Linked DNA regions of Homo sapiens: region 1 is linked to region 2. Evidence: promoter capture Hi-C in 16 types of primary human blood cells and fetal thymus (Javierre and others, 2016). All regions are on one chromosome and are shown on one strand. Each heading gives the region's core, a stretch centred on a gene start or on the middle of the fragment in contact. The rest is flanking DNA. Distances are from core to core; before and after follow the strand shown.

Region 1 (2,700 bases), core at 66-2,565, 120 kb after region 2:
TTTACATTTATACAAAAAGCACTTGAGTATCTAAGACAGAACGTCTGAAAAGCAAAGCATAACTCACAAATAGTGTAAGAAATTAAAAATGCATTTCAGTGAAGATGAAATCATTTTGACAGAGGTTTTTAAAGAACAATAAAGAGCAACTATCCCTTTTTTAAATTAACTACCAGCTTGAAAGTCTCAATTTTAAAAAGGTATTTGTGGACATAGAGAGGTTCATTATACTATTTTCTCTACTCTTGCATATGTTGAAATTTTCTGTAAGTTTTTAAAAAGATGCATAAATCAAAGAAAAAGAGAAACTGAAGTTTTAATGTCTAAAAACAAGCTATTGGTAGATATTCGTCAGAAGAAAGAAGACCTGTAAGGAGAAAAAGAAATATACTCTGGACCAAGAAGAATTCATCTATGCAAAAGCTGCCTCAGAGTAGGAAGCACACAAATCTCCCAATGAGCAATTAAAAACTCCACCAACAACACTTTCAATAGTAAAATTTTAAAACTCACAGTATAATAGTTTGAAGTAGTCTTAACAGAACTCAGACATGTCTTTAAAAGACAAAAAAAAAAAAAAAAAAAAGAGGTCCCAACACTTTGGGAGGCCAAGGAGGGCAGATTGCTTGAGCCCAGAAGTTCAAGACTAGCCTGGGCAACATGGTGAAACCCCCCTCTACAAAAAATTAGCTAGGCATGATGGTGCACACCTGTAGTCCCAGCTACTCAGGAGGCTCAGGGGAGAATCACCGGAGCCCTGGAGTTTAAGGCTGCAGTGAGCCATGACCGCGCCACTGCACTCCAGCCTGGGTGACAGAACAACACGCTGTCTCAAAAAAAAAAAAAAGTACAATCATTTTAACAGGCTTCTTCAGGATGTCATATACAAATTATCTTTGAACTCTATTATCATCAGTTTATAGCAAGGTAAATTTTACCTAACTAAGCCTTCAGGTTTCCAATAAGAATTAAATTCCTGTGATTAAAAAAATAATAAGCATCTACCACAGAGGAAATGCTTTCAAACTAAAATATGAGTTGTGATTTTTAAGTCCAGGAGCTCAATGCCTCCACTTTCTTCACTACTACCTAATTAAGATCCCAGATCAATTTAATACTTGAAAAAAAAACTGCTTGATTTGTTCATACCTCTTTCTTCCTCATGTTTTTTGGCAGATGCACTTTTAGGTCTTCCTCTTCCTCGTCTGATATGATCTGAATGGCTGTTACTTCGAGACCTCTTTCTGTTTTCTAAATCTTTATTTACTGTAGAATTTATCTTCTCTCTCCTAACTCTCTCTGTTCGCCTCCTCTTGGCCTCATGCTTGTTTTCTGTATGGATGAATAAAAGTGATATATTTTAGGGCTTAGCAAGAACTGTTTGCCCAAGTTCTCATTGTCTTCCTTTTTCTTTCTAAATAGCACTAGAGTATGCTTCCTGGCATATTTCATAGAACTACAACCATAACATATATGTCTCCCCCACACCCTCATAAGAAAAAAAGAAATTCAATAGAATTCAGATCACAATAACACATGAAGTAGGAGGAATCTTGGAAGAGAAAACAAGTTTCTTCATTTGGCAGCTTAAATTTCAGCCTCTACAAGTTCACACAATTCCATAGCAACCTTTCTGCCTTTTTCTTCCTGTTTCCAAGCTAAAAATAGTGAAATATTAAGAAAGGAAAAAAACTGCATGCCCTTTTGCCCTCTACCTGAGTTAAAGATTAAAATATGTGAAATATGCAAAAGCAAAACTGATCTTAGAGATAACGTATTAAGGTTACAATAAAAATCAAACAGAAAGCATCCATAACAAATATAAAAACCCTAGGCAAGTGAGTAATTTTCACTTTAGCCACAGATAAGGTAATTTCTGATATAAGAGCATGTTGTTCCATAAATGGAATAGCAATAGGGAAACTTTACTAAATATGGTGATTTAATTAGTGCAAGAAGCCACCCCTCCCACTCTAAACAAATCAAAATGTTGGATAAGACAAACAATAAACTTAAAGAAAAAAACAAAACAAAAACAAAAAAGATGATACCTTGCTTTAACACATACCTGCACTCAAAAGCAAGAAAGAGAATTCCCCAAATGCCAAAAATCTCAGTGGTAAAGGGGCAAAACAAACAGAAAAATTCATATCCAAAGAACTAAAGGGAACAATGTGAAAGACTATAAAATAAGTATGCTTAATAGACTGCTGTAAAAAAATTAAAAGTAAAATAGTAATATTATCCCCAAACACCATATCCTTGGAGAATTAATCTGAAGTTTCAAATTAGACATATACCAGATAATACAAGAATATTTAATTATCCCAGATTGCAAGAAAGTTATCAAAGACAAGCAGGGTGTTGTTAAGACTTGGGCTAACATGAAGAGGCTCCCACTATTACAGGACAATTTGAGCATCAATAAAAATAGTAACTGTAACAGATTGAAATATATCAAGCATATGAGTACATTAACATTAAAAACAAAAACTACTTGGCCACCATACGAAGATACTAAAGAACCAACTCATTACTTTGAAAACTTAAATATAGGGCAAGAACAAAGCATTTCTTCTGCTTTTTCTATTTAAACTGTGCTACTCACGGGGTAACCAAAGGGCAAATGAAGAGGTTTCTCATATTAAAGCTAATAAATGAAGAAGGAATGACAGAATCAGAGTATCAACATTTTTCAAC
Region 2 (2,806 bases), core at 47-2,546:
CTGTGTGTCTGGCTGATTGCTCCCAACTGGTTCACCCAACAAAGAATCGGAGTGTGTAATACATCCTCAATTAAGTGTTTTCCATTACAAAACAATATAAATGTCAATCCATAAACGCTGGAAACACACAAATCCTAAAGTTAAATTTTGCGCCGGTCTTGTATCAATTCCCAATTATAAAAATCCTGAGAAACAGGCAAAATCACCTTGTACGGCAACACGTTATATGAAAATAGTATTTGTAAAACACTTAATCCTTTCTGGCATTAAGACATTTAAAGTGAAATCTGTTTCCAGGCTTACAGATTTACAGAAGCCTATCTACACAGAGTGAGTAAGGTAATTAAAGCGGACATACAGTATATACTCAAAAAATTTATTTACACAGTGCAGGCTATGTTAAACGCTAATAAAATGCAAGTGACAACTTGCCTTTGTGGGAACCAGACACAAAGATTCACATTTTGAGGAAGTTCAAGTTTACCGGCCAACAGCCACACCACGATTTGCTGCCGTCATAGACGGGCCCTAAGGAGAAGTACTGCTTCCAGCAAGTCAAATACTTGGATTTTATCAATGGCGAGACAAAAGAGGCAAGGTGCGCCCAATGCACAAATGCTAAAGTAAACAATCAGTCTCCTTTGCGACCGTCAGGATTAGAAGACAGCCTGAGTCCTTCCAGGAAATTCATGTAAGCAGGTCCCCAGAACTCGCTGACAAACACTGCAGCCGAAGGCGGGTATGAGGCCAAGAAAGGCCAAGGAATCACTGCGACCCCTCCAGGAGGGCGTGGGGACGGCCGAGCACAACTAGGCACAAAGGTAGAAACGCAACATCTGGGCGGGTCCCGGCGCCACCTCCGAGTCTCAGGGCCTCCACGCGCCCCGGGGGCCAGACGCTCAGACCTAGGACTACCGGTCCCCTCGTGGTAGGCAGGTGACCGATTCCACTTAAAGGAGGCCGCAGGCCTTCATGGACCCCAAAGCCTACATGCCAAGTCAACCCCACAGAGAGGCCGCCCCGTCTCTCAGCAACGGCCGCAGCCAAGAGCCGCCGCCCACCCCGGCCCGGATCAGCCTGCCCGCGGCCTTCCTCCTGCTGTCCCCTATCCCGCAGGCCAAATCGGGCTGGTCTTAATCCCGAACGGTCTGTGGGGCCCCTTCTCCACTCGCTGGAGTGCGGGGCGGTGGGAGAGAGCAGGGGCTACAAGGAGGGTCGACCCAGGTGCCACTGCCCCCTCAGCACTCACCATGGCGACTCCCCAGAGCCTGCAGCAAGCAGCACCCGCCCCGCGCGTAGCCTCCCGCGGTCATGTGACGCTGCGGCCCCTCCAAGCCCCGCCCTCTCTAGCCCCGCCCCCGGGCCCTACAGGCGGCTCATTGATTGGCCTACTTCTAGGAACCCGAGTCTCGCGTGCTTATTGGCCCTGTCACTTAACGCTAGATGGACGGACCTGAGCGCCAGCCAATCTCACCACAGCGTGCGAGAGTGGGCGGAGCAGTGCAGGGCAGTGGGGATCGCCCGGCGGCAGGCAGGAGACAACAGGAGGGAAAGGCAGTGTGTGATGAGTTTGTCAAGAAGGAATGGAAGGAGGGGGAGCCGACAAGTCCACGTTCACCGCATCTGCGTTGGCGATTGCGCTATTGATGCGCATGCGCAAAAGGAAGACCCTGATTGGTTTGTGGGACGGTCTCAACGTCCTGTCCTAACCAATCCAGATGCGCCGGGGGTGGGGCCTGGCTCTCACTGGCCGGTGCAGCCTTTGCGCGCGGGTTTCGTTGACCCGCGGCGTTCACGGGAATTGTTCGCTTTAGTGCCGGCGCCATGGGGTCGGAGCTGATCGGGCGCCTAGCCCCGCGCCTGGGCCTCGCCGAGCCCGACATGCTGAGGTGAGTTCGGCCGCGCAAGACCAGGGCTGGGCTTCCGCCTCGCGGCCCTGGGCCCTCAGGTGAGGCCCGCGCCCTTCCCAGGCGACGGGCGGCGGGGGAGTGACGGGGAGCGCTGGGGCCGGGCGGGGTTTAGGGCCTACTTCAAGAAAAACTTCTCGGCCGTGAGCTTGAATGAGATGGCAAGAAGGGCGATAGCAAACGGCGATGGCACACGTCCCTGGGAACAGCCAGCCCTGTCCGTGGGTAGAAAAATGAGCCAGGGAGAACTTTCCGTTCATTCCGCCAACGCCTACTGCAGTCGGGTTTATAGCGGGGAACCCGACAACGAGGCGCAGACCCCGCTGTCTGTAAGGGCGAGGACTGTGTAGACCTTAACCGGGCAATGCTCCTGAGCCACTGGGCTTGGGGTGGAGCGCGGCCTAGCGGCTGCCTTTAACACAAAGAAACAAACAAAACTCGGAAAAGCAGGCGCCGTTCCCGCTGAGGCCGGATTGATGGCAGATGCTAGGCGAGGAAAGATATGGCAAGAGCAGCCCAGGCAGGGGCGACAGCTCCTGTAAAAGCGTTGAGATGGGAAGCGGGATCCGGGGTTCGAAATAAAGCCATTGTAGCTAAAACGTGGAGCAGTCAGGCGAGGGAAGGCAAGGAAAACAGCACTTAAAAGATTTGAAGACAAACCTGCAGGACTCGGTAGTCATTTAGAACAGTGGTTCTCAAAATGTGGTTCCTGGACCAGCAACAGCCATATCATCTTGTCACTTGTTAGAAATACAAATTCTTGGGTCCCACCTCAAGCCTGCTGATCAGTAACTCGGCCTGGGACCCAGTAATTTGCAAGTCCCCAAGGTGATTTTCGCCTACCATCAAGTTTAAGAACTACTGATTTAAAGGAAATAGGAGGAAAGGAGGAACCCTGG

What was found. The method cuts DNA at HindIII sites, captures the fragments that hold promoters and counts their contacts. A CHiCAGO score of 5 or more calls a contact.
Region 1: a fragment that was not itself captured here is called in contact with the fragment with the promoter of VPS35 in region 2 in 14 of 17 cell types (megakaryocytes, M1 macrophages, M2 macrophages and 11 more); the score reaches 14.5 in megakaryocytes.

Annotation. Positions count from the first base shown.
Region 1 is chr16:46,808,454-46,811,153 of GRCh38, forward strand. C16orf87 (chromosome 16 open reading frame 87) reads right to left here. Exons shown (of 4, transcript NM_001001436.4): 3 at 1,150-1,332. Among named protein-coding and RNA genes, the nearest start is that of C16orf87, 21 kb to the right of the region's middle. The HindIII fragment of the contact is 5,700 bases long and covers 1-2,700 here.
Region 2 is chr16:46,687,882-46,690,687 of GRCh38, forward strand. It overlaps VPS35 (VPS35 retromer complex component), which reads right to left and starts at 1,297. Exons shown (of 17, transcript NM_018206.6): 1 at 1,250-1,297. The coding sequence starts at 1,252. ORC6 (origin recognition complex subunit 6) reads left to right here and starts at 1,778. Exons shown (of 7, transcript NM_014321.4): 1 at 1,778-1,889. The coding sequence starts at 1,825. RefSeq lists enhancers at 768-1,465, 1,466-2,164, 2,402-2,481, 2,532-2,601 and silencers at 1,002-1,051, 1,202-1,441, 1,762-2,061. The HindIII fragment of the contact is 9,040 bases long and covers 1-2,806 here.